7 separate regions of the Homo sapiens genome follow, and all the other regions are linked to region 1. The links are contacts of gene promoters, found by promoter capture Hi-C in blood cells and fetal thymus (Javierre and others, 2016). All regions are on one chromosome and are shown on one strand. Each heading gives the region's core, a stretch centred on a gene start or on the middle of the fragment in contact. The rest is flanking DNA. Distances are from core to core; before and after follow the strand shown. Region 1 holds the start of PSMA2 (proteasome 20S subunit alpha 2). Region 2 overlaps UBE2D4 (ubiquitin conjugating enzyme E2 D4). Region 3 holds the start of URGCP-MRPS24 (URGCP-MRPS24 readthrough). Region 4 overlaps GLI3 (GLI family zinc finger 3). Region 5 holds the start of MRPS24 (mitochondrial ribosomal protein S24). Region 6 has its middle 23 kb from the start of MRPS24. Region 7 overlaps BLVRA (biliverdin reductase A).

Region 1 (3,846 bases), core at 156-2,655:
GGCAGGAGGATCCCTTGAGCCCAAGAGCTGGAGGCTGCCAAGTCCCTGTCCCTAAAAAAAGGACCACATTTGTTTTCTTCATAAATAGGAACAGTGAATACATCCTGCACACACTATTCTGTCATATGTAATATAATGAGACCTTTTATTGCATAATTAAATTAATCTCGTTCAAAGGTTACAAAAAAACTATTACATACACCCACTGCTTACTGAAAACTGCCAAGAGAAAAGTACTTTTGGAATTTAAGACAACGTTATGTAATGGAAAGTGTATTTTTGTTATCAGAAAAAAAACCCAGTTTGAATGTCAACTCAGCTACTCACCGATGACCTTAGACAAGTTGTTTAATTTGTACAAGCTGCGGTTAGTTCATCTGTAAGAAGCTGAGATAACATTCATTATAGCAGTGGAAAGAGATGGAGCAGGTTAAGGTTAAGTTGCACCTAACAAAGTACTCAACAAGTTAGATCCCGCCTGCCTTCAGTTGTCAGGAGTACATTTTAAGTAAACTGGGCATTACTGATCCTTAAGAAAATGGGTAAGTCAGAAAACTTCCCCAGTCAATTTTTAAAAGTCTTCGGCGATGGTTTTCTCACGTTGAGAGCCATGGTTCGCCCCAACTGTATTTTGGAAAGTAAACTTATTATTCTAATCCCCTTTTCTACAATAGAAAAACCTACAATCTTGTTTAAAGTAAACATCCCCCTCCCCGACGTTCCCCCCAGTCCACCAAAAAAAGACCAAAACTCAAACTTGCCTCGTTGTTAGGGGTTCACAAAAAAGTGATAGGGGCTTTCGGTTTTTAGTCCTTATGTTTCTAATTCGTGCATCGAAGAAACCGAAAGCGGGAGGTTTTGAAAGACACTAGTGCCAAATGGAGACCAAGACTCCGACTTAACTGTAAAGCTGAGAGTTTTCCAAGAAAAGGGAACCCCACATATTTGACCAAGATTCCAAGTTTCAGAAACCACCGCATCAGGTCTACTTGAGCCAGGAAAAAAATCCTGAGTTCGGAACGGGCCACCCAGAGATGGTTAAGCTAAAACTGCCTTCTTTTCTGGTCTCCAAAGTGAAAGCGAATCCTTGGCTATGTGCCTCACCGTCCCGCAGCCCCATGTTAACCCCGCAAAACCGCATCCCCCCGACCCTCCAGCAGCCTCCGACCAAGGAAGCTCCAGGAATCCCGGGTCGGCCTGGCAAATGACTTTGCAAAGCCGCATTTCCAACTCCATTCCCTACTGGACCCTCCAGAAGCACCAATGCCGACGTCAGGATGGGAAAAACTAAATCGACAGAGTACCAGCAACCTCGACTACGCTGAAGACCTCGAGGGCCCCTTCCATACCTGAATGTAGTCAGCGAAAAGCTGTACCCGCGCTCCGCCATCTTTACCCGAAGAGCCAAAGCACAGCCGCACACATGCGCACTGTGGCCGATTTCCTTTCATTTCCCCGCCCCTCACCTTTCCTTTACTCTCTATGATTGGAGGAGAGTCAGAGCTGCTCCAAGAGCATGCGGGGTGTTGTAGTTCTAAGAAGCGAGGCTTGCCCGATTCTGTGCCTGTGCGCATGCTGAAAGCAGGGGCGGGACCGGGGCGGTCTTCCAGCAGGGAAAATGGCGCTGGCCATGCTGGTCTTGGTGGTTTCGCCGTGGTCTGCGGCCCGGGGAGTGCTTCGAAACTACTGGGAGCGACTGCTACGGAAGCTTCCGCAGAGCCGGCCGGGCTTTCCCAGTCCTCCGTGGGGTAGGTAAAGAAGGGCTCCGTGGGAGAGGGGGCTGATGACGGGACCTCGGGCAGCGTAGCAGACGCAGCTTACACAGTTCGCCCTCAGCCCCGGTTCTGATCCGCGGCCTCATGTCGGGGACGTAGTTCGTGACATTCCCATATTAGCGAGAACAGAACGACTGTTTTTGCGCTCCCTCCACCGCAAAAAAAAAAAAAAAAAAATTCCTCTGCTTGTTCCATTCGTACACAGAATGTAACCCAAGCTTGTGTCAAAGATAAATCATAGCCAGCCAGTAAGTAAAGCGCTGAAAACAGATTTTATTCAGTAACTACTGCAGGTAAAGAGCTGAGCTCCATCCCGGTTTGTGCAGAGGTGACTTTGGGCGTTTTAAAGGGAGAATGAGCGAGGCGGGAGTGTAGGGGCTCTGTAGAGTCAGAGAAGTGTAGTATAGTGAAGTCAGTGCAAATGTGATTAGCCGGCTGTGTCTGCTAGCTCGCAGTTGTCTTAGGGAGAATTCTATCCTCCCGCAGAGACTGGGAGACAAAGGCCCTATCCTTCCTAATGATTAGATTTCGAAGGAATGGCTCTCAGGGCCTTGAAAGAAAAGCTTCCGAGTTAGTTGCAAGGGATACGTATTTACAATTATATGCCCTTTCCAGGAAATGCTCTAAGGGAGTTCGGGACCTACTATCGGGGTATGTTGGCCAAAATAAATAGGAAATTTTCCAGGCAGCGTTGAGCTTTCTCAGGCAGGCACTTTAAAGGGGGGGCCGAGGTCATCCTAGGATACAGCCTTATGCTGCTAGAAACTATGCTAGAGTTTGGTCAAGTCTGTGGAGTTCAGGGATTTGTACAGAGTTGTCCTGAGAGGACAGTTCTGCAGGTCTCACTTGGCATCAAGGCTCACCACTCTCTGGATCTGTCTTTCCTTTCCAGCCCTGCCCTCACCTCCCCTCCCGCTTCCCCTCTCCCCCCTCTCCTCTTCCCTTCCCTTCCCTCCCTTCTTTCCTCCCTTCCTCCCTCCCTCCCGCGCAGTACATGTTTTCTGTGGTGTTTGAGCTCTGAGGAGCTGAATTCTGTTTCCCATGTTTCACTTGGAATTAATTTTAATTGGAAGTATCTTGGATGTTGAAACTGTCATGGCTTTGGCATTTACATTCTACTCAATTTCTAAGCAGCCTGAAAGTGATAATATCCAGAAATATACCAAGAAAATATATGCCACTATATGCCAAGCAATGTGCCAAGCTTTCTACATGTACTTCCTGGGATAATCTTGACAACAGTCCCATTAGGTGTATACACTTTCCAACTGAAACAGTAGGCTCACAATGGTCCCAAGTTCACAGACAGTCCTGAGCCTGTGTTGTTAATCACCGGGGCATGCTTGGCAATACTTGTGGACATACTGAAAATAAATGCCAGTTGTTAAGTGTTAGAGAACTTTGTGTATTTTTAAGAGTTCTTAAGATCAAAAGAAGTATGTGGGCTGGGCGCGGTGGCTCACACCTGTAATCTCAGCACTTTGGGAGGCCAAGGTGGGTCCATCACCTAAGGTCAGGAGTTCAAGACCAGCCTGGCCAACATTGTGAAACCCTGTCTCTACTAAAAATACAAAATTAACCAGGCGTGGTGGTGCACACCTGTAATCCCAGCTACTTGGGAGGCTGAGGCAGGAGAATCACTTGAACCAGGGAGGCGGAGGTTGCAGTGAGCCGAGGTCACGCCACTGCACTCTAGCCTGAGTGACAGAGTGAGACTCAGTCTCAAAAAAAAAAAAAAAAAGTATGGCACGTCTAAGAAATAGCAAGGAAAGGGTAAAGGAATGTTGATTTTATAAGCAATTCAGAAAAAGAGAAACTTTGATAGTCACATAAATAAGGCCATACAGAGAAATGGTGAGCTGGCTCTTTTCTTTAGAGAGCAGACAGGAATCAAGATTAAATGTTATGAGGAACTAAGTGACTTAAGAGGTTGTATCATAAAGGACCTGACTCAGTTTGAATATAAGAAAAGGCAATTGGCAGTTACATCAGTGCCGGTCAGAAGTGTATTCAGGAAATCTGTCTAGATTTACTTGTAAATTAATCAGGTACTTACTACCCGCCAAGTATT
Region 2 (3,846 bases), core at 633-3,132, 1.0 Mb after region 1:
GCCTGTAATCACAGCATTTTGGGAGGCCAAGGCGGGTGTATCATTTAAGGTCAGGAGTTTGAGACCAGCCTGGCCAACTTACTGAAACCTCTTCTGTAATAAAAATACAAAAAAATTAGCTGGGCATGGTGGTGCATGCCTGTAATCCCAGCTACTTGGGAGGCTGAGGCAGGAGAATTGCTTGAACCCAGGAGTGGAGGTTGCAGTGAGCTGAGATTGTGCCACTGCACTCCAGCCTGGGTGACAGAGCGAGACTCTGTCTTAAAAAAAAAAAAAAAAAGTAAATAAAAATTAAAAAAAAAATTAGCCAAGCGTGGTGACACACACCTGTAATCCCAGCTACTTAGGAGGCTAAGGTGGGAGAATCACCTGAGCCCAGGAGGTCAAGGCTGCAGTGAGCCTCACCACTGCACTCCAGCCTGGGCAACCAGAGTGAGACCCTGTCTTAAAACAAAAGCAAAACAAGAATCAAGGTCAGGGCTGGCTTCATGTGTGTGTGACGCATTCACTCTCACAGGGCCCCAGGCTTGGATGGGCTCTGCCTTTGGTTTTATGCTCTGCTGTCACTATCAGGAAATTCTTAATAATTATCGAACTTGAGACCCTACATTTTCACATTCACAAGGCCCTGCAAATTCTGTAGCAATTCCTGGGGAAAAACAACAGAATTGTAGGAAATACAACTTTAAAAGTGTGTCAAGCCTGCCGTGGTGAGATGGCACCATTGGGCCACCACTAGTTAGGATGTCTTGGCTGCAAGTGACAGAGGCTGAGCTGCCCTTGTGCATGGAATTGGAGGTCCTGTGGCAGGACTTTGGGAGCAACTCAGTCCCCCTCTCCTGGTCTGTTCCTGTGTCACTCTGGGCTGAATGGCTCTGGAACACACAGCCTGCTGGACATCTGGGAGTAATAGAGACAACTGCTTCCAGAAGAACTGATAAGAATATTCTCAGAAAGCCCAGCAGATCTTTTTTTCCCTTTGCCTTGTTATGAATTATGTCTCATGCTCATTCCGAAACCAATGAGTGGCAAGGAGTCTGGTTACTCTTAGACCTGGAGCTGACAGTGAGTTGACCAGAACTGAACAGCAGTCCTTCAGAAAGGAGGAAGGCGGATGGGTGCTGAGCAGGTAGCCAGCAGTATGCAAGCCTGAGCCAGGTGTGTGGTGTCTACTAGCTGCCCCCTTAGTTTCCAATCCACAGCCCTTTCTAACCAACTTCAACCCTTTAAAAAAATGTTTTCAAATGAATGTTTCAAATTGAATATTTTTAGATGCACTTTTTAGTTAGTTAGTTAGTTAGTTAGTTTTTTGAGACAGGGTCTTGCTCTGTTACCTAGGCTGTAGTGCAGTGGCTCAATCATAGCTCACTGCAGCCTTGACCTCCTGGGCTCAAGCAGTCCTCCCACTTAGCTTTCCCAGTAGCTGGGATTACAGGTGCCTGCCACCACATCTGGCTAATTTAAAATTTTTTGTAGAGAGTGGATTTCACCATGTTGCCCAGGCTGGTCTCAAACTCCTAGGCTCATGTAATCCTCCCACCTCAGCCTCCTAAAGTGCTGGGATTACAGGTGTGAGCCACTGTTCTCAACCAGGACAGGGTTATATGTGGCAGCATTTCAATTTTTTAATGGTTTTTTTTCTCTTTGATACGTGTATTAGTCCATTCTTGCATTGCTGTTAGGAAATACCTGGCCAGGCACAGTGGCTCATGTCTGTAATCCCAGCATTTTGGGAGGCTGAGGCGGGCAGATCATCTGAGGTTAGGTCCTGGTCAACATGGTGAAACCCCATATCCACTAAAAATACAAAAATTAGCTGGGTATGGTGGCATGTGCCTGTAATCCTGGCTACTTGGAAGGCTGAGGCAGGAGACTTGCTTGAACCCGGGAGGCAGAGGTTTCAGTGAGCGATCATGCCACTACACTCCAGCCTGGGTGATAGAGTGAGACTCTGTCTCAAAAAAAAAAAAAAGAAAAAAAGAAATACCTGAAGGCTGGATGAGGTGGCCCATGCCTGTAATCCTAGCACTTTGGGAGGCTAAGGCAGGTGGATGGCCTGAGCTCAGGAGTTCAAGACCAGCCTGGGCAACATGGCAAAACCCCAGCTCTACCAAAAATAGAAAAAATTAGACAGGCATGGTTCTTGGCATGTGCCTATGGTCCCAGCTACTCAGGTGGCTGAGGTGGAAGGATCGCTTGAGCCAGACAGAGGTGGAGGTTGCAGTGAGCCGATATCGTGCCACTGCACTCCAACCTGGGTGACAGAGTAAGACCGTATCTTAAAAAACAAACAAACAAACAAAACAGAAAACCTGAGATGAGGTAATTTAGGAAGAAGAGTTTTAATTGGCTCACAGTTCCGCAGGCTGTACAGGAAGTATGGCACTAGTGTCTGCTCTGCTTCAGAGGAGGGGAAACTCACACTCACTGTGGAAGGCAAACCGGGGTGGGGGGGCGGGGGGGGTGGCAGAGCAGGCATGTCACATGGCCAGAACAGGAGCAAGAGAGAGAACAAGGGGAGGTGCTCCACACTTTTATTTATTTATTTATTTATTTTTGAGACAGGGTCTCTGTCACCCAGGCTGGAGTGCAGTGGTGCAATTTCTGATCACTGCAGCCTCCGTCTCTCTGGTTCAACTGATTCTCCTGTGTCAGCCTCTGGAGTAGTGTGTGCCACCATGCCTGGCTACTTTTTTTTGTATTTTTAGTAGAGACGGGGTTTTGCCATGTTGCCAGGCTGGTCTTGAACTCCTGAGCTCAAGCGATCCACCCACTTGGGCCTCCCAAAGTGCTGGGATTACAGGCATGAGCCACTGTGCCTGGCCATGACACACTTTTTTTTTTGAGACAGAGTCTTGCTCTGTCGCCCAGGCTGGAGTGCAGTGGCACGATCTCGGCTCACTGCAAGCTCTGCCTCCCAGGTTCACACCATTCTCCAGCCTCAACCTCCCTGAGTAGCTGGGACTACAGGCGCCTGCCACCACACCCAGCTAATTTTTTGTATTTTTAGGAGAGACGGGGTTTCACCATGTTAGCCAGGATGGTCTCGATCTCCTGACCTCGTGATCCACCCGCCTTGGCCTCCCAAAGTGCTGGGATTACAGGCACAAAGTGAGCCACTGTGCCTGGCCCATGACATACTTTGAAACAACCAGATCTTGTGAGAAGAGGATAATACCAAGTGGATTGTACTAAACCAATCACTTCCCACCAGGCCCCACCCTCAACGTTGGAGATTACAATTTGACAAGAGTTTTGTGTGGGAACACAGATCCAAACTATATCAATACATATTTAACACATATATTTTGCAATACATGTACTTTAAAGAAAATTTGGAAAATACCTGGCTAAGCAGGGTGGCTCACGCCTGTAATCTCAGCACTTTGGGAGGCCGAGGTGGATGGATCACTTGAGGCCAGGAGTTTGAGACAAGCCTGGCCAACATGGCAAAACCCTGTCTCTCCTAAATATACAAACATTAGCCGGGCATATTAGTAGGTGCCTGTAATCTCAGCTACTCGGGAGGCTGAGGCATAAGAATCGCTTGAACCCAGGAGATGGAGGTTGCAGTGAACCAAGATGGCGCCACGGCACTCCAACCTGGGTGACAGAGCGAAATCCTGTCTCAAAAAAATAATAAAAATAAAATACATAATAAAAAAATAATAATAGAAAAAAAGAAAATTAAAGAAAATTTGGAAAATGCCCCCAAAATTCAGTTTTTAAAAAACTCATCTCTAGTCATCTAAAGTGGGGTCACTTTTTCTTGCTGGAATGTGTGCCATCCAGTTCCCCTCCTGGGGGCAACAAATGTTAAAGTATATATATATATATATATATATA
Region 3 (3,846 bases), core at 466-2,965, 970 kb after region 1:
TGCCCACCCTTTCCTGACAAGGGGGAAAGGAATGCTGCAGGACCTTGAACCCCTAGGTCAATCAGCCTGGCCTTCCCAGGGATGGTTCCCTGCTTACTCTATTCATGAGCTCAAAGTGCTGGGTAGTCAGCTGGCAATGAAAAGGCCTGGTCCCGGAAATGACCACTGCCCCAAAGCCTAGAAAGACAGCAGGCGGGGTTCAAATTCAGCTTGCTTCATTCAGGCCCACTGTACTGAGCCAAATCACCCCAGGGCATGGCTCAGGCCTCATCTGGAGGAGGCACGAAATCCATGATCCCGGCCCCTTAGCACCGTCCCCTCCCCACCCCTACCACTGAACACACACCTGTAAAGCTCTTTGGGAACTGTTCTGAATGGCTATCACAGCCACTAGATCCAAGACCCTCTGAATGATGGGTAACAGTCAAAGAAGAATTTTAACAACTAAAGCGATGACCTTGAGCCTAATTTCTTTCTTTGTAAAATGAAAGTGTTGGACTGTCATTCCCAAATTTCAGTACTAGTAAAATTATCAAAACAAAAAACAAAAAAATAATGAATTACTGAGGTTTTAGTTTGCCAAGTGAGAATTTTTTCTCAAAAATTACAAACTATATGTGTCGCCATCATTTCCTAAAAGGAATAACATTTAAATCAAAAAAGTTGAAAAGAGGTAATATCAAAATAAGCGCAGCCACCCCAAGGCAGGCCGGTAGGCAATGGCCCCGACCAAGGAGATCCCGGAGCGGCTCTCCGGCTGTCAGCAAAGGGTCTGCATCTGCCCGGATCCTGACATTCTGGGTACGTCTCAACGACGCGGCAAACAAGCGTCCACTCCCAACGCGAGCAAGTTTAAAACCCAGGAACATCGATACCAGGCGCCGGAGCGAAGCATTTCCAGGCCTCCGCGGGTTGCCCCGGGCCGCGGCGAGGACCCGCACCCCGGTTCCCCAGCCGCTCGCCGGGCCCTCGCTCCCGCCGCGCCCCGGGCACCTCCGGGCCTCGCGCCCTCCCCGGATCCCCTAGGCCCGCGTACCCGGACCCCCGCATCCCGGGGGACCGCTGTCCTCCGCCGGCGCCCCCGCCCGCCCCCCACGCCCGCGCGGCCGGTCCGCCCAAGGTCGGCGCGAGCGGGCCGTGGGCCTGGTGGGCCTGGCGGGCGGGGGCGCCCCTGGCCGGGTCCGGGCCGCATCCCAGACCAGAGCCCGCAGGCCAGAGCCGCTCCGGGTCCCGCTCCCGTTCCTGCCGGCAGCCGCGGGGGCGCAGGGCCTGCGAGGCGGCACTCACCCGGGCGACGCCATGAGCGCAGCGAGGTCTCCGCTCCCGCCTCCTTCGCTTCCTCCGCGCGGCCGCGGCTCGGCGCCGGGGAGGGGCCTGGCCCGCCGGCCGCCCGCCCGCTCCGGGACGCGCTCCAGGGGTGGAGGTGGGGTGAGGTGGGGTAAGGTGGGCCCGGGGTCCTCTCGGAGCAGCCCGGGGACAGCTGGGGCGGGGTGGGGGCGGGGCGGCCCAGGTCAGCCCGCAGCCCGCCCAACGCCCACCTGCCCAGGTGCCTGGAGGCCGGAACTCGCCGGGCGGTGCCTGCGGTGCCAAAAGCTGTAGGATAACCTGCCCCAGGGCCTTACTGAACTTCACACCTTTCTGTAATTGGAGTTTAATTTCTGTAAGAAAAGGCTTTTCTTTAGCCCTGAAGCGTAAGGCCTTATTATTAAGCAAAACAATAACTTTCCTACTTCTTACTTGCAGTGCTGTGTTGGACGAGTTGCTGGCCTCTCTGAGACGGTACCCATTGTAAAATGTGTATAAAGTGGCCTTGTGAAGCTCTAGGCAATGCGAAGCACTTTTATTATTCTTTATAGTGTGTTATTAAGAAAAATAATGAATCTGCAGTTCCTCCAGTGAGGTTTCACAACTATTCTTACAAGTTATGAGTCCTTAGGCAGGTAGATTTTTCAGCTTCAGTTCTTCTCTCTGCAAAATGAGTTTCCAAAAATGATCTAAGTGAAAATGCTTAATAAAAAGCTCTGGACAATGTAAACCATTGTTGATAACATTTTTAGTATTATATTAAATATCACTGGCCGAACGCAGTGGCTCACGTCTGTAATCCCACCACTTTGGGAGGCCGAGGCAGGAGGATCGATTGAGCCCAGGAGTTTGAGATCAGCCTGGGCAACATATTGAGATGACCCCCTGCCCGCCCCGCCCGTTTCATTTTTAAAAATAAAATTAAAGTTAAAAGTAAAATATCATTAACAACCACTATTTAAAAATGTTTACTACTATTAAGAATACAAGACAGCAAAGCAGTGATTAAAACCTTAGCTCTGAAGCCAGAATACCTGTGTTGGAATCTGGGCTCCACCAATTACCAGCCCCAGGAGCCCCTGCAAGATAGAACCTTTCCAGGGCCACAGTTCCTTATTTGAAAAATAAGGCTAAAAATAAGTCCCTTCCTCTCTGTGAAGATTAAATGAATTAATATTTGTAAACATTTGTAACTATTTTTAAATGTTAGTAAACATTGCGTGATGCATGGTCTCTTTTCCTCCTGGGAGAATCCAGTCAATGTTTCTGAGCCTCCTTGTCCTCTTCGGTAAAGAAATTCATAACTGCTACCTTGAGTTCAGAAGATAATTAATGCTCTGTAAATGGGAGCTGATAGGTAAAGCCACGCGAACTTGTGACACCCAAAATAAGGACAAATCCAGGAGGACCAGAGTTAGGAAGAGTTTGAGGAATGGGAAATCCTAAATCCTAAATGCCTGATTCAAGGGAGTAATGAAATGAAGGAGATCAAACTAAAAGAATTTTTTCTTTGTTTGTTTGAGACAGGGTCTTGCCCTGTCACCCAGGCCAGAGTGCAATGGCGAGATCTTGGCTCACTGCAACCTCCACTTCCCGGGTTCAAGCAATTCTGCCTCAGCCTCCCAGTAGCTGGGACTACAGGCGCCCACTACCACACCTGGCTAATTCTTCTATTTTTAGTAGAGACAGGGTTTCCCCATGTTGGTCAGGCTGGTCTCAAACTCCCAACCTCAGGTGATCTGCCTGCCTCAGCCTCCCAAAGTGCTGGGGTTACAGGCGTGAGCCACCATGCCTGGCCTAAATAAGCATTCTTTTAAACATAAGGAATACATGTTTACTGACATAAAATCTGGTTCAGAAACCAATAACCCCAAAATATGGCACTTTAACAAGCTGAACTGAAGAAGTCTCAAGGTCTCTCTGATCTCCCTCCCCACTGGTTTCTCCCAAAACAGAAAATGTCTTTATCTGCTTAAAGTCCAGACCCTCCAAGGAGAACAACTGTTTTTCTTGCCCTCCCTGTAAGACCAAGAATGTAACCACACCTGAAAAGACCCTTTCATAGGATAGCGTACAAGTTAATCTCTGTGCCCTGATCCATTCCTTCTCCCTAGTAATCCTTTATTGCCCCTTGAAAGAATTCCTCTTTCTCCCCTCCTGTAAGTTGTTTTGCCAAGATGGTCTACAAGCTTCTGAACCTTGTTGGGTGGTGGGAAATCATTCTGTAATTCTCCCTGTGCACACATTCATAAAATTTGTATGCCTTTTCTTCAATTAATCTGCTTTTTGTGAGTTGATTTTTCAGTAAATCTTCAGAGGGCAAGGAGAAACTTTCCCGTGGCCCGTACACTTAACATGAATTTTAGCATCCCACTATATGGTTAGACCATCATGTTTAACCAACCCCTACTGTTGGACATAAATATTGCTACCAGTATTTCATTATTATAAGGAATGTGAGTAATAAATATCCTTATAGCCAAAACATCCCATAAACATCAATGATTATTTCCTTATGCCAAATTTTGAAGAGTTGAATTT
Region 4 (3,846 bases), core at 738-3,237, 950 kb before region 1:
ACTGTGTATGCATGCTTCCTAACCAGTGGGAGTGGCAAGACCGGGATGGAGCCTGGCATTCCAGGAAATATACTACAGTACACTGGCCATCTGAAGAGCAGAGTTCAATTCCAGGTTTGGGACCAGCTAGTTATGAAATGAGGTGAGCCACTGTTGACCTTTCTGAATCTCTGTCATTTTTCCTTGCCAAGGCTGGCGATTGAGGCTAAACAACTGCAGAGATGTTCTCCAACTCTCACATGCTGGGCCATGGGTTAGCACCGCGGCTTAGGCTTCAAAAAGGGAAGGCACACACAGACATGCACAATTCCAGAACAAAAAAACCAAAAGCACTTGCAAATGAAACTTTAGCTCAGGGTTAATCAGACTGCTTCCTGAATAAGAATTGCAGAGAAAAGAATTATACTGAGGAAGAGGACTGTGTGGTCATCAACAAATAAGTTAGTCTTTCAGGGCCTTGGTTTTCTTCTTGTAGAAAATAAATGACTGGATTCACTAGTTGCTAAGGGACTTTCTAGCTCTAAAATTCTATTAATACAGTTTTTAACATAAAGATGAAGTTCTCTGAATTACTTACCAATTCATGGTTTTAGAATCATTTAATTTCTTGGATTAATACAATTAGGAATCATTAGAAACCTACTGCAGCATGAGAGGAAGAGAAGCTTCTTAATTTGAATCAAATTAAGGTCAATTTCAACAGGTTGAGCATACTATTTCAATGTCCAGCTATGGACTACTGAAGACATTTGCATCCTAGGTTGATGCTGTTGGTCTTTATTTTCTGGTGATTCTACATTTTATTTGCCTTAATTTAAGGCTTGTGGGAACACTTTCTGAAGTATACATAGAACTACATCACCAAAAAACTTCGTTCAATAAGAGAAAGCTCCCTTTGGCTCCATGCCTCGTGTGGTAGTGACACAACCTCTCATTACTTTCCTGCTGAGTCCAGGGCTCCTAAAGCGGTGGTCGCTGTGAGTCTGAAGGTGAAGTTCTGCCCTCAGAGTGTGCCTTTCCCAGTTACTCCACTAGATGGCCTTTCGCTTTAGGTAAAAAAAAGTTTTACAAAAGTAAAGTTTTCTATGCTGTTTCTGGAGTTTAAAACTGGGTGAGGACAGAGAAAAGAAATTGTTGTTCTCTATCTCCTCTCCTTGGAGCAGTTCCCAGAAAAATCTGATGAAGAGCAGAGAGAGAGTGGTACATTGCAGCACACAAGAAGAGAGCCAATGTCCCGTCAGTAGCTCCAAAAATGACACAGAAACTGCAGTGGTTGGGGAGCAACCCCACGGCAAACAGATGTGGGTTTCCTATGAAAAGCCAGCCATGCTCCATGTCAGTGTTTCTTTAAAGTTATGATGATGCACACAGGTATAGGAAGAGAACAGATGTTCTGGACAGGGGTCAACGTTCAATCCGCACGTCTGCTTCTAGTAAGTCTTTGTAGCCCATACACAAGACCAGGGCTTTCCCAAATGTGTGCTGAAGCCCAGCCTTGGAAACCAAGCTCACATCTTACAGAGGGGTTCTATGGATTCTCAAACGGGAGAAAAAGAAATGATCATACAAAAACACTCCCTAACAGTTGCTCTTGGTTCAGTTTTCCAAGTCATTGGAAATAAAGCTTGGATCCTTGGATTAATGCATATGAAAGGGAAAGAAAAAAGGAAGGAAGGGAGGGAGGAAGCAAGGAAGGCAAGCAGAGAGTGAGGGAGACAGAAGGAAAGGGAAGAATAAGGAAGGAACACAGGAGGGAGAAAGGAAAAGGTAAAATTGGGAAACTGAATTATAATTTGTGCTGAGCCAACTGCTTAAGGTTGGATCCATGTCTTATTAGTTCCCTGTTCTCTCTCATGCTTTTATGAGGATGTGCTGGGTGCCACTCACACCAGGCCCTGTGCTGGAGAACATGACAGACATGATTCTTGCCCCAAGGAATTAAGTCTACCAGAGGGAAACAGGTCATGGCTTAAATTACTATACAATTACAGTTGTGATAGGCATTATGAAGGGAGATAACAGGGTTTTATAAAAACATGTAATGGGATCATAAGTCAGTGTGCAGCATCAGGAATCAGGGTCCGCTTCTCCAATGAAGCAGCATTTAGAGCAGGACCTGAAGGATGAGTAGACACATCAGGTGTGCAGGGAAGGATGGGGTAGGAGAATGGGACACTACAGCGGACCGATGACACAGAAGTACCTGCAGAAGAACAGAGCCTGGTGCCTTTGAGGAACAGCGTGAGGGCCACGCATGGCAGGAGAGAACTGGCCAGGGAGAGACTGCCACCACTTGGCATGGCGAGAAGGCATGAGTTTTCTGTGGGTCAAGTGGACATCCATGACGTAGGTAAGCTTGGGTTAGCTTGCCAGGGCTCACCTAAAATGCTGTGTGCTCAGTCATGTCTCCAGCAGTGAGGATGTGGGAAATACCCCTGCATAAAACTCACATACACCCCAGGGGAAAGCCAGGCTTGCATGTCTGCCCCTGAAGAGGAGGGCATCAGGGAAACCTGGTGCTACTCAAGGGAGCAGGGGTGGCTAAGAAGGAGGTGCCAACAGTGGCCAGTAAAAAAAGGGACTCTCATATTTTCCTTTCCTGTCTCATCCAACACACTGGAGGAGCTGGACCCTAGAAAGAAAGGGAAGGCATCTCCTGGCAGCACTCCCAGGCCCCAGCTCCTTTAGGTGAGGTGGCAAAGGGAGGGCAAACAGCCTGCCAGTTCCCTTGAGGCCTGTGCCTCGCTGCTGACAGGGAAGGGAAGGCTCTGGATTGGACCTGAGATTGGACGTTTAAATTGGACACTTTAGTTATCCAAAGTGACGGGGAAGGTATAGAATCTGCCTACAATGGTGTTGAGGGATCCGGCACTGAGCAGAGAAGGGAGAACTGGCAACCAGCGGAGGAGGGCAGTGCCTGGAAAAATCCCAATCATTTCCTATTTATACCGCACCCAGCTTCTTCTACCTTTGCCACTGAGACAATGTGTGGAAATTTGAGTGGCAGGAAATCCCACACCAGTCAGCAAGCATGAACACCCTTGCTGTTGTCTCCATGTGGGGAGGGGTGGGGGAAACTTATGTTGGGCACTTAAAGCAACCTCATTTTCATAAGGTTAGCATCTTGGGAATGTTCCCTTTCCAATCCCTTAGACCCGAGTCCCAACTAATATATTTTTGCAATTTTCTGGAACTGCTCTTAAGTTCAAACTTGCATTGAGACCACAGTTATTTTTCTTTAAATGAAATTCTACACCTAGGAGGCTGGGGAACCAAGTCAATCTTCCTCTTCTTTACTGCTTAAATGCTGCACAGAGGATGTAATCAATTGCTATAAGGAAAAAGGGAGGCATCTCTCTGCCTGTTTAAGCAGTTCAAATGTATTTTAAGCTTAACATATTTCCTAGAACTAGATTTCAAGTGAAAATTAAAATTCTAAGAACTCACAGACTTAACATGTGCATGTGTTCTAAATATTTACTTTCCTTTAAAAAGCTGCATTGGGCCAGGCATGGTGGCTCACACCTGTAATCCCCATATTTTGGGAGGCTGAGTCAGGAGGATCACTTGAGCTCCAAGACCAGCCTGAGCAACACAGCGAGACCCCATGTCTAAAAAAAAAATCAGGGTGTGGTGGTATAGGCTTGTAGTCTCAGCCACTTGTGAGGCTGAGGCAGGAGGGTCACTTGAGCCCAGGAGGTCAAGGCAGTAGTGAGCCAGGTTTGCACTACTGCACTCCAGCCTGGGAGAGCAAGAACTTGTCTCAAAAAAAAAAAAAAAAAAGAAAATACATTGTACATTGCCCTCTGCAGTGAGTGTTCATCTGAGGGCCTATATCACAGTAGG
Region 5 (3,846 bases), core at 704-3,203, 940 kb after region 1:
CTGTCGTCCAGGCTGGAGTGCAGTGGCGTGATCTCGGCTCACTGCAACCTCCGCCTCTTGGGTTCAAACAATTCTCTGCCTCAGCCTCCTGAATAGCTGGGATTGCAGGCGCCCGCCACTACGCCCAGCTAATTTTTTTGTATTTTTAGTAGAGATGGGGTTTCACCATCTTGGCCAGGTTGGTATTGAACTCCTGACCTCAGGATCCACCCTCCTCGGCCTCCCAAAGTGCTGGGATTACAGGCGTGAGCCACCGTGCCAGGCAAGCATCTGTATTTTAAGTAAGTTCTCTAGATGCATCTCAAACATCCAAGAACCCCTGTACTAAACAAAGCACAGTTGGTTATCAATTGTTCACAATAGTTATATTCTATAAAGTCACTGCCAACACTGACTTAGTGAATACTGAACCATTGCTCCTAGGTGAAATACAGGGTTAGATTCCTTTCAGCCTCTGGGCACCGTATTTTTGTTAACAAATCAATACATAACCTAGTTTCCTTTGTGTTTCTGTTTAAAGACACCTTGTTTAATATATATGGTAGATTCACTAACATTGAATTCAGGGCCAAGAGCAACTCATGACTGAAGAAAGATTCTCTAATACATGTATGTTCTCCCTAAGGCACGTCACAGCCTTCTCCCGCTTAGGAACACTAGATAGCACTTCAGCATTGCAAGGCCATTTTAAACAGCAAAATCACTAACAAAAAGCACGAAAATGCAAATTAAAAAAAAAAGATTCTAGACCATAAAAAGGACACCTTTTACAGTACGAGAGCTGAAACTAGGCAGAGCCTTGTCGACCTCAGCTCGGGACATGCACCTGGGGTGGCAGCTCCACCCACATCTCAGAGTGACCTTGAGAGTGCCCAGAGTGTTGATTTGGGGCTTACAAATAAATTTTAGTCAGTAGAAGAATCTGAAAATATGGAATTCATGAATAACGAGGGTTGTCTGTATATATTTACAGAGAAAAATTTGTGCTTTAGTGGAAAACTGCATTCCTTAGAGCACACTGTTCAGGGTTATCAGATTCTGCAACGGTTTCACTCCTTTCCTTGACTCTGAGCTATTTTACAGCTCTGTAAATTACAGATAACTGACAGGAATGCAAAATAATTCTTGTCTGTAGACATGCAAATAATTTCTGTTCAGTGGAGGATCAATTGAGTCCCTGCCTGCCATGGAAAAAGTCAGTTTTGCATCCATCTTCAAATTTGTTTCAACATCCTGATCTATATATATCTCTGCTTTTTTATGTCTCCCTTGAGTTGGTTTCATAGATTTCTGACCCTAGCATTATTTCCTGAGTTAAAGAAAACCTGTGACACGTGTTCATTTTGTTTACATGACAGTCGGATTGAGTGCTCCTTTTGGAGGCCTGGGGTCCGCTCACCTGTGTGCAGCGACAGCCAGCCTTTACGGTGGGCGATGTAGTGCGGCGCGTGTGCCTCCTCGTAGGTCACCGGCTTGTCCCCCTTGCTTACGCGTACTCGGGCCGCCCGGTTCTAGGAGCAAAAGGGGCCGTGACTCCACGAGATCCCCGATCCAGACCCCTACTTCGCGCCATGTCCCCCCAGTCAGCTGGCACTGTTCCCCGGCCCCAATCCCCTGATCCCTAAGCCCCGACCCTAGCCCCGCCTCGGACCCCAGCGACACGCCCCCTTCAGCCCGCACGGCTTCCCCGGCCCCCGGCCCCCCGGCCCCCAGGCCCCCAGGCCCCTGCCCCGGCGGTGCTCACCTTGGCGCAGACCGGGGAGGTGTGCAGGGCGCGCCAAGCGCAAGGCAGCTCTCGGCTCCAGGACAGCACCTGTGGAGGGAGGGCGCGTGAGGCGGAAACTAGGGACCCCACCTCCGACTCGCAGGGACCTGCCGAGTCGCCCCACTCACCCGTGGCCCCAGCAACCCGCTGCACACGGAGGCCGCCATCTTGGGCCAAGCGGAGCGCGGGACGTACCACAGCGCGCTGAGGGGTGGGGACGACCGCGGACGAGACCAAGTCGGAGCTCGTACTCTGTACTCTGGCGGGGGCGGGGCAGGGCCTCTGCGGGGCGGGGCCGCGGTATGCTGCTAGCTGTTACTCCCGCCTTCCCCGCAGCCCTGTGAATGCTCAGCCTTGTGAATGCTCATCCCGCCGCTGTTCGCTCTCCCGCGGTTGCTGCTTGCATAGGGTTTCAGATCCGGAAATTTGAGGATGCGAAACGTGAGATTTTCTCTTCGACAACCTCACGCTAGTACGGGTGATGGGTGTGCGGCCCACCGGAGCCCGCCCTGCCCAACCTGCACCCTCGGGGCTCGAAGAGGAGCCAAGCGTTTCCCCAGGTCCTAGTTATGCCTCCAAATAATATTCGTAGAAAAACAAAACAGAAAAACCCTCCAGACTTTTATCCACAAATAAAGAAGAAACATATTTTGGTTAAAACGTCACCCAATTCTTCAAGGATGACTTACGCAGTTATGCAAGAATGGGTTTGCCACATGTGACCACAGTGGTGACTGGCCCCTGAGGAAGGAAAATTTTAAGTACGGGGAAGGGGCCGGAGGGCAAGGAGATTCGTGAGAATATCGCAGGGCCTGTAATGCTGAAACCAGTGCGTCGCCACTATTATTGGTATCCAGTAATTATTAATGTCAAACGGAAAAATAGCAACGCGGGATATTTTATTTTAGAAGTCACCACGGTCATGGAAAAAACACGGGCTCTGGAGTCAGACCCATGTATAACAATCTTTGTACAGTTAAGACTCAGTTCTATTATCTATAAAATGGGCCTTAATAATAGTACTACCTTATAGAGCTATTAGGATCAAGAGAATATTTAATCAATGATGGGTTGTGTTTGGTTGAGTGATGTGAAATTGCCAATGTTTTGGCCGTTCTGGGTCTACATCATTCCCCTTAATGGTACAGTACTTGCATACTGCTGCGGTTTCCTGTCAGGGGGAGGACTGGATTATGATCCATGGGAAGGGGAAATGGAAGAACGGTGGAAATGAGTTGCCCATGACCACACTGAGAAGAGGGAAAGAGGGACCAAGACACAAGTCTCTTGACTTCAGTCCAGCCCATTTCCCATGACCAAGATTCCTCTGATTACATGAAGGTGGGTTCTCAAAAAACCCGTAATAAAAGGACAAGGTCTTCCATGTCCACTTCACCAGAAATGTTTTATTCTTACTTTTTAGGAACTGCGGCCCCCAACTGTTATGCATATTGAATAAAGGGACAGAACAGGGATGAGGTGCCCTCCAATGCATACTTTGCAAATGTAAGAACTTTCAACATTTCCTAAGAAATCCTTTTCAACTGACAATTATTTTTTAAAGTTTTCATAATGTTCAATAATTTTATAATTGTTAAGTTTCATTAATTTGCTCCAAGGTGGTGAGGAACATGGGATGTGGCATCTGAATTGCCTGAGTCCAAATCGTGGACCCAATGCTTCCTGGCTGTGTAATTTGGACAAGTGACTGAACCTTCTGAGCCTCGGTTTCTCTCATCTGTAAACTGGGGACAATAATGGTGGTTGTGAGAAGTACAGTATGATGTGCCTGGCAGAGGGAGAGAGCAGTTGTGGGTTTTGTTGTTGTTTTTAACGAGTCCCTGATAGCCACATATCCCGTTAGGGAGATGAGCCAGCTATTGAGGGTTCTGTGAGAACTCATAGCAACACCACCCTAATCAGAGGAAAGGGGAAGGAGAAAGGGAAACAAGATCCTTGGGCTGATCAGAGGCAGAGGTGGCAATGGCACAACACCTATTGGGGCCCAAGGTGGGCAGGGGCCACACCACGAAGGCTGTGGTTGGGAATCAAGTTTAGCCCATAAAGCAGTAGGCAATCAA
Region 6 (3,846 bases), core at 396-2,895, 910 kb after region 1:
GTTGTAAAAGACAAGGTTCTGTATATAAAGGTGGGGATGGAGGGACATCCCTCACCAGTGCAGTGCTGCCCAGTGGGATGGGGGCGATTCATCATTGTAGTCATTATTGTCATCATCACTACCATCATCATCATCATCATTGTCACTGCCACTGTCACCATTTCCACCACCAGAGTGGCTGCCAATAGCTAAGTGCTCTGAATAGGCCTTACTGAAATTGTTCTTGCAAAAATTATGACAGTGAAAGACGTAACTGATTCCATCTTGCTTCCAACCTCACAAGCTGATTGTCTTTGCTCATTCCTGGGTGTAGGCCAAGCTTGCCATGGAAGGAGTTTAGTGTGCAGTTTAACCTTAAAGCAATAGCAATGGTACCTTCCCAAAACTACCCCCCTACTTGTCTGGGGATGGATGTCGCCTTTGTAAAACTAATAAAAGACCACAAAGTTAGAATTATAGGAGGGGTCTGAATTCTGCTAAGACCTATGCATAGATAAATGATAACTAGGCAAGCCAGGCAAGGTGGGTATGCCTGTAATCCCAACACTTTGGGAGGCCAAGGCAGGTGGATCGCTTGACCCTAGGAGTTTGAGACCAGCCTAGACCGTATCTCTACAGAAAATACAAAAAATTAGATAGGTGTGGTGGCATGCACCCGTAGTCCCAGCTACCCAGAAGGCTGAGGTGGGAGGATTGCTTGAGCCCAGAAGGTCGAGGCTTCAGTGAACTATGATTGTGCCATTGCACTCTTGCCTGGGCAACAGAGTGAAACCCTGTCTCAAAACAAAAAAAAATTAAATTAAATAAATGACAACTAGTCATGTTTTGTAACTTGCTTACTGCTCAGGAGTCATGTAGCCAGTGGTCACAAGATTTATAATTTGTAATGTACCTAATTGCCCCTATTGATAACATTGCTATTGTAAGACCTAAGACTGGTGTTTGAGATATTTTTCAGGCTTTGCATTCCGGTGGAACAACTGATGCCACTAAGACCACTGACCCCCCACCAGGAATTAAGTTCCTATGATTTTATCCCTGACCCAGCCAATCAGGATTTCTCACTCTCTGGCCCCCTGCCCGTGAAAGAAGTCCTTAAAAACCCTAGCCTCCAAATTCTCAGGGAGACCAATTTGAGAAATACCTTCTGTCTTTCCACTCAGCTGCCTTGTGATAATCAAACTCTTTCTCTGCTCCAATGCCACTATCTCAATGCATTGGCTTTATCTGTGCAGCAGGTAAGAAGAACCCATTGAGCTATAACATTATCATCTTCACAATAGTTTGTAGAAGGAAAGTGACTTGGTGGGCCAGTGACCCCCGTCCAGATCAGTCTGACTTGGAAACTCTTTCCACTCTCTCAAAACCAGCCAGCCCCCACCCTGACGCCATTGCCTGCTGGGGATGCCAATCTCTGAGCCATGCACACCCTCTGGGGCTCTGGCAACTGTGCTCTGGGTGAAAAGACAGCAGATTGAGGGTAGGAAGATATAGGCCCATGACCCAAAGCAGAATCCAGGCAGCCCACCTGGGGGCTGGGGCCATGCTTTTGGACTCACTGATAAACCATTGTGGGCATCTTCTGAGCCAGGCAGGATAAAGGGAGGACAGCCCCTGGGGCCCTAAAGTCAAGGCTGCCACTGACAGTGAATGAGCTTCTGTCACTGTTGTCACTGTCCTTAATGGGGACACTAAAAACTCAGCTTACCGAATGGGCTCTGGGCCAGAAAACAAACAGAAACATATGCATTTCCAAATGTGGTCTGTTCACCAGGGTAGCCTGTGCTTGAAACTAGCATGTGGAGGTGGTGCCCATGGGACATCCAGGAGGAGGCATGGGAGAAAGGCCTCTGCTCACTTCTCAGATGCTGACCACTGGAAACAAGAGGCCAGATGGGCTGGTGAGGTCTGCTCTTACTCCTCTTTTCAAACACAAGCCTAGAATCTATTTAAATATATATTTGCAGGCTGGGCACAGTGGCTTGTGTCTGTGATCCCAACACTTTGGGAGGCCAATGTGGGCTGATTGCTTGAGTCCAGAAATTTGAGACCATCCTGGGCAACATGGTGAAACCCTGTCTCTACACAAAATACAAAAATTAGCCAGGCCCAGTGATGTGTGACTGTAGTCCCAGCTACTTGGGAGGCTGAGGTGGGAGGATCACTTGGGCTTGGGAGGCAGGGGTTGCTGAGATAGTGCCACTGCACTCCAGCCTGGGCAACAGAGTCATCTCAAAAAAATAAATAAATAAAATAAAGTAAATATGTGTTTGTGGTCAGGCGCAGTGTCTCACACCTGTAATCCCAGCACTTTGGAAGGCCGAGGCAGGCAGATCACTTGAGCCCAGGAGGTGGAGACCAGCCTGGCCAACATGGTGAAACTCTGTCTCTACTAAAAATACAAAAAATTAGCTGGGCGTGGTGGTGAACGTCTGTAATCCCAGCTACTCAGGAGACTGAGGCAGGAGAATCGCTTGAACCCGGGAGGTGGAGGTTCCAGTGAGCAGAGATTGTACCACTGCACTCCAGCCTGGGTGACAGAGCAAGACTCCATCTCAAAAAGAAAAAAAATATATATATATATATTTATAATATAAATATCATATTATATATTATATTTATATAAATACATATATTTATAATACTTATATATTATAGTATATAAATATATAAATGTATATTAAGATATACTTTTAAAATATATATATACATATAAAATGTTTGCTTATATTTGGAAATCTTTGCCAGACATTTCATTGCTTGTCATATGGACAAATGATGAAAGTAAATAATTTTGTGGAGTGGAGTGCTGAGGCTAGCTTATACCGGCTCACAAGAGGAAATTGTTAAGTTTTAAGGACTGTTGTGAGCTGACAGTTGACCACCAAAATGAGTGATTTAGACCTAAGTCGTGAATCATCAAAGTTTATTCAGCCAAGTAGAGGGTATGCCTGGGAAAACAGGAGTCACAGAAGCTTCTGTGACTGTATTTTCCCAAAGAGGTTTATTATTTATACATTTTCCTTTAAAAAGGTTGGGGGGTGCGCCAGGAGTGGTGGCTCATGCCTGTAATCCCAGCACTTACGGAGGCTGAGATGGACTGATCACTTGAGCCCAAGAGTTCAAGACCAGCCTAGGCAACGTAGCAGAACTCCATCTCTACAAAAAAAAAAAAAGAAAGAAACTTAGCTGGGCGTGGTAGTGGACACCTGTGGTCACCAGCTACTTGGGAGGCTGAGGTGGGAGAATAGCTTGAGCCTGGAGGGGCAGAGGTTTCAGTGAGCCACTGCACTACAACCTGGGTAACAGAGTGAGACCTTGCCTCAGAAAAAAAAAAAAAAAAGGCTGGGGAGGCAGCAGTGAGACAAATAATTACATGTTTGTGAGGCTTTTGTTAATACCCAATAAATCTACATTTTACATAAGATAAGGTGAACATTTGAAGCTAAAGGGAACAGATGAAGCAGGGGGGCTCGGGGAGGAATGAAGAATTACTTTTATCTTGTCTTTGTTATGTACCTGGGAAGATAAGCTAGTAGTATTTGAAAGAGATGGTTTCTGTTTAGTCCTTACAGAATAAAACCTAATAGCTATTAGTAAGGGAGGGGGTATAATGAGGTATTTCTGATCTCCCTTCCCATTGTGGCCATTAATTCTGTCTTCCAGGGTTTCTCTGGGGTTCCCATGGGCAAGAGAGGATCCATTCAGTCAGTTGGGGGCTTAGAATTTTATTTTTATTTCTTGCAGTTAACCTATTATTAACAATTAAATTGTAAAACTTGCAATTAAATTATTTTTAAAACAAAAGTAATATCTATTTAAAACCAATCACATCTCCAGCCTGGG
Region 7 (3,846 bases), core at 757-3,256, 870 kb after region 1:
AACTGTGATGTGCATTAATCCATATGACAATCCTATAAAGTGGTATTCACTACCCCCATTATACAGATAAACTGAAGTTCAGAGGCATGAGTGGCTTCACAGAGGTAACGTAGCGGTCATGAGACAGAGCTGGATTGGAGCTCAGCTCTCTAAGTGGCTGGAACTGTTGTGGGTGGCTGCTTAGTATTCTGTCCAAAGAACTAGGCTGGGCATAGTGGCTCACGCCTGTAATTCCAGCACTTGGGGAAGCTGAGGCTGGTGGATCACCTGAGGTCAGGAGTTTGAGACCAGTCTGGCCAACATGGTGAAACACCGTCTCTACTAAAAAAAAAAAATACAAAAATTAGTCGGGCATGGTGGCACGCACCTGTAATTTCAGCTACTTGAAAGGCTGAGGCAAGAAAATCGCTTTAACCCAGGAGGCAGAGGTTGTAGTGAGCCGAGATCGCACCACTGCACAGCCTAGGTGACAACGAGACTCTGTCTCAAAAACAAACAAACAAACAAACAAAAAAGAACTAGAGCAGACAGTAACCAGCCCTGGGGAAGTCTTTTTGTTTTGTAAGTTTGATACTTAGGCCCCAGTGATTTCAAACCATATTGTCTATGAAAATTCTAATTTTTGTTTGGTTTTATATATAACTTATTACTTTTTAAGAATATACTCATTGTTATTAGTCATTGTTTTAAGTGAATATCAAGGTCATAAGAAATGTTTTGTTTATAATGTAATGTAACAGATATGAAGTCTTTTAAACTTAGGTTATGTTTAAGATTTTGGCTGGAGGCAGACGGGAGCAGTATCTTGACCAAATGGATTTCTCACACCAATACTCTTTTTTATGTTTATATATATATATTTTTTTGATATAGGGTATCACTCTGTCACCCAGGCTGGAATGCAGTGGTACAATTATGGCTCACTGTAACCTCGAACTCCTCAGGCCCAGATGATCCTCCCACCTTAGCTTCCTGAGTAGCTGGGGCTGCAGGTGTGCACCACGACACCCGCCTAATTTTGTGTGTTTTTTTGTAGAGACAGAGTCTTGCTATGTTGCCTAGGCTGGTCTTGAACTCCTGGGCGCAAGCAGTCTGCCAGCCTTGGCCTCCCGAAGTGCTGGTATTATAGGCATGAGCTACTGTACGTGGCCTTTTTAGGCTTACTGCAACCTCTGCCTCCCGGGCTAAAGTGATTCTCCTGCCTCAGCCTCCCAAGTAGCTGGGGTTACAGGCACCCGTCACTATGCCCGGGTAATTTTTGTATTTTTTTTTACTAGAGACGGGGTTTTGCCATGTTGGCCAGGCTAGTCTCGAACTCAAGTGATCCACCCACCTTGGCCTCCCAAAGTGCTGGGACTACAGGCGTGAGCCACCACGCCTGGCCCCAATACTCTTTTGAGTGTACTTTTTTGTTCACAAGATTAGGAAGACTAAGAAAACATTTAACATTGTATCAATTTTCTTGATATTGAAATAGCTCAAAGGTATTACCATTTTCTCCATAGCTATTATAATACCTTCATACCTTATTGCCACTTACACATCAGGTAGTTATAAGAATACAGGCTTGCAGGGCTAAAATACTTTGATTCTTCTACTTTTACCAGACTACTTTAAATCACTAAAGAGGATATATATATATGTATATGTAGGTATGTGTTGTGTGTGTGTGTGTGTGTATGTATATCTACATATGTGTACATAGATGTATATATTAGAAGCCTGAAACTTTTTTATTATCCTGTTTGGCTGGATTGACTGCTGTTTCCAGTAGAATGTTTTACTAAAACTCAATTTAATAAACAGGAAAAGACAGAGATGCTTTTATGATAGAGTTGAAGTTCAGCCACCTGAGTTTTCATCAGTATCATTAATCACGTTGCCTGCCTACCACATAAGGCAAGGTCCCATTGTACTGATCACTCGGCCACATCTTTTCACACCCCCGCCACCCCCACCCCCCTGTCCTGCTTTCCACTTGGCATTCCTGCTTCCCAGTTCCCACAGCATTTGTGATTTCCCACAGCTGGCCCGTTGGAAGAAGAGCGGTTTGGCTTCCCTGCATTCAGCGGCATCTCTCGCCTGACCTGGCTGGTCTCCCTCTTTGGGGAGCTTTCTCTTGTGTCTGCCACTTTGGAAGAGCGAAAGGAAGATCAGTATATGAAAATGACAGTGTGTCTGGAGACAGAGAAGAAAAGGTAAGTCATGAGAAGCCATGAGGAGGAGGAAATTTAAGGACATCCTAGTACATTTGCAGGTATGATCCAAAGGGAGCCCCGAGGGGCTAGACCCTCACTCCCAGCTCCAGAAGGGCTGTCTGCTTCTGCAGATGGAGTGCTGAGATTGCACTTGTGTTGCCTCATCTCATCCTCTCAGCAGCCCTGTGAGGTAAAGAAGACAAACATAATCCCATCTGCCAGTCAGTAGACAGAGGCTTACAGAATGCCAGCAGGTTGCCTAAGTCATGCAAGTCATTCATAGCAGATTAGTAGTGGAAATTACATTACCTTGGCTGGGCGTGGTGGCTCAGGCCTATAATCCCAGCACTTGGGGAGGCCAAGGGTGGTGGATCACCTGAGGTCAGGAGTTTGAGACCAGCCTGGCTAACATGGTGAAACCCTGTCTCTACTAAAAATGCAAAAATTAGCCGGTGTGGCGGTGCATGCCTGCAGTCCCAGCTCCTTGGCAGGCTGAGGCAGGAGAATTGCTTGAACCTGGGAGGCAGAGGTTGCAGTGAGCTGAGATCAGGCCACTGCATTTCAGCCTGGGCAACAGAGCGAGACTCCTTCTTGAAAAAAAAGAAAAGAAAAAGAAATTATGTTAACTCTGTGACCTGATTTTTTTCCTGTGTTTTCTTATGAAAGTTTTCGGGCATATTGTGAAGTTGAAAGAATTTTTAAGTAAACACCCATCCACCTACTCCCTAGACCCTGCCATTAACACTGTACATGTTCCCCGCAGGGCCACACATTCACCCCTCAGTGCAGCCAGAGTGTGAGGGTCTGTGTTTCAGCTTTAGCATCCCATCACCCTGTCACACTGTTCCCAAAACATTCTGACTTATTTCTCATACCAGGTCTTTTTTAACAAAAGCACATTCATAATTTTCCTCCCAAAGCACCTGGGCTCTGTAAATTATTTAGAACAGTAAGGGTTTTAGAGTGTTTCTGGATGCCTTTGCAGAGAGGTGGGTCTCCTGGTAGTAAAAGAAGCAGACACTGGGTATTTTAAAAAGAAAAAAGAATTTGAGTTCCTGAATGAAGCCTGATCTAGTCCATTTTGAGGAGTTTCTTCTTCGCTAGGAAAAGGCAGAGAGGCCTGGCAGATGAAAGCAAAGCACATGGAACTTGGCAGTGCTCCCTATGGAGTGACCAACAGTGGTGGCCCGGGCTCTGGTGTGGCCATGTGAGTGTTAGGATTGCAGCCGTGGTCAGACCTATACACAGACAGTTGTAGCACCCTGTAATTAGAGGTAAAGATACTGTAGGGTGCTGTAGGAGCACAGGGAAGGGGAACCTGGACTAGGTCAGCTCATGGTTCTGATGGGAGGCGGTGCCTTGTTTGGTCTTGAAGTTGAGTAGAAGTCAATGAGGAAGCAAGATGTTGGGGAGGCAGAGGCTGACTCTCTCTCTCTTTTTTTTTTTTTTTTATGAGACAAAGTCTTGCTCTGTCACCCAGGCTGGAGTGCGGTGGTGTGATCTCAGCTCACTGCAACCTCCATCTCCCGGGTTCAAGTGATTGTCCTGCCTCAGCCTCCCGAGTAGCTGGGATTATAGGCGCCTGCCACCACGCCCGGCTCATTTTTGTATTGTTAGTAGAGACAAGGTTTCACCATGTTGGTCAGGA

What was found. Contacts are between HindIII fragments. The CHiCAGO score rates a contact against its expected background, and 5 or more counts as called.
Region 2: a contact is called between a fragment that was not itself captured here and the fragment with the promoter of PSMA2 in region 1, in 2 of 17 cell types (total CD8 T cells and non-activated CD4 T cells). The highest score is 9.1, in total CD8 T cells.
Region 3: a fragment that was not itself captured here is called in contact with the fragment with the promoter of PSMA2 in region 1 in 2 of 17 cell types (non-activated CD4 T cells and total CD4 T cells); the score reaches 7.8 in non-activated CD4 T cells.
Region 4: a fragment that was not itself captured here is called in contact with the fragment with the promoter of PSMA2 in region 1 in 1 of 17 cell types (endothelial precursors); the score reaches 5.1 in endothelial precursors.
Region 5: the fragment with the promoter of MRPS24 here is called in contact with the fragment with the promoter of PSMA2 in region 1 in 10 of 17 cell types (naive CD8 T cells, total CD4 T cells, naive CD4 T cells and 7 more); the score reaches 21.2 in naive CD8 T cells.
Region 6: a fragment that was not itself captured here is called in contact with the fragment with the promoter of PSMA2 in region 1 in 6 of 17 cell types (naive CD4 T cells, total CD4 T cells, total CD8 T cells and 3 more); the score reaches 13.1 in naive CD4 T cells.
Region 7: a contact is called between a fragment that was not itself captured here and the fragment with the promoter of PSMA2 in region 1, in 2 of 17 cell types (non-activated CD4 T cells and naive CD4 T cells). The highest score is 6.4, in non-activated CD4 T cells.

What each region holds. Positions count from the first base shown.
Region 1 is chr7:42,930,769-42,934,614 of GRCh38, forward strand. It overlaps PSMA2 (proteasome 20S subunit alpha 2), which reads right to left and starts at 1,406. Exons shown (of 8, transcript NM_002787.5): 1 at 1,350-1,406. The coding sequence starts at 1,390. It overlaps MRPL32 (mitochondrial ribosomal protein L32), which reads left to right and starts at 1,608. Exons shown (of 3, transcript NM_031903.3): 1 at 1,608-1,748. The coding sequence starts at 1,619. RefSeq lists an enhancer at 1,557-1,786. The HindIII fragment of the contact is 5,414 bases long and covers 1-1,706 here.
Region 2 is chr7:43,929,163-43,933,008 of GRCh38, forward strand. The region is part of intron 1 of UBE2D4 (ubiquitin conjugating enzyme E2 D4); the gene reads left to right. Among named protein-coding and RNA genes, the nearest start is that of UBE2D4, 4.6 kb to the left of the region's middle. The HindIII fragment of the contact is 5,962 bases long and covers 1-3,846 here.
Region 3 is chr7:43,905,275-43,909,120 of GRCh38, forward strand. URGCP-MRPS24 (URGCP-MRPS24 readthrough) reads right to left here and starts at 1,322. Exons shown (of 7, transcript NM_001204871.2): 1 at 1,288-1,322. The coding sequence starts at 1,301. URGCP (upregulator of cell proliferation) reads right to left here and starts at 1,322. Exons shown (of 6, transcript NM_001077663.3): 1 at 1,288-1,322. The coding sequence starts at 1,301. RefSeq lists silencers at 1,098-1,527, 1,588-1,747. The HindIII fragment of the contact is 3,554 bases long and covers 1-3,492 here.
Region 4 is chr7:41,978,933-41,982,778 of GRCh38, forward strand. All of the region lies in intron 10 of GLI3 (GLI family zinc finger 3), which reads right to left. Among named protein-coding and RNA genes, the nearest start is that of GLI3, 260 kb to the right of the region's middle. The HindIII fragment of the contact is 731 bases long and covers 1,623-2,353 here.
Region 5 is chr7:43,867,564-43,871,409 of GRCh38, forward strand. It overlaps MRPS24 (mitochondrial ribosomal protein S24), which reads right to left and starts at 1,954. Exons shown (of 4, transcript NM_032014.3): 1 at 1,894-1,954; 2 at 1,745-1,813; 3 at 1,400-1,511. The coding sequence starts at 1,932. It overlaps URGCP-MRPS24 (URGCP-MRPS24 readthrough), which reads right to left. Exons shown (of 7, transcript NM_001204871.2): 5 at 1,745-1,813; 6 at 1,400-1,511. The coding sequence ends at 1,423. LOC124901620 (a long non-coding RNA gene) reads left to right here and starts at 2,083. Exons shown (of 2, transcript XR_007060296.1): 1 at 2,083-3,271; 2 at 3,385-3,846. RefSeq lists silencers at 1,666-1,725, 2,026-2,085 and an enhancer at 2,316-2,435. The HindIII fragment of the contact is 8,402 bases long and covers 1-3,846 here.
Region 6 is chr7:43,844,759-43,848,604 of GRCh38, forward strand. No RefSeq gene overlaps it. Among named protein-coding and RNA genes, the nearest start is that of MRPS24, 23 kb to the right of the region's middle. The HindIII fragment of the contact is 2,656 bases long and covers 318-2,973 here.
Region 7 is chr7:43,801,650-43,805,495 of GRCh38, forward strand. It overlaps BLVRA (biliverdin reductase A), which reads left to right. Exons shown (of 8, transcript NM_000712.4): 7 at 2,027-2,198. Among named protein-coding and RNA genes, the nearest start is that of BLVRA, 45 kb to the left of the region's middle. The HindIII fragment of the contact is 6,752 bases long and covers 1-3,846 here.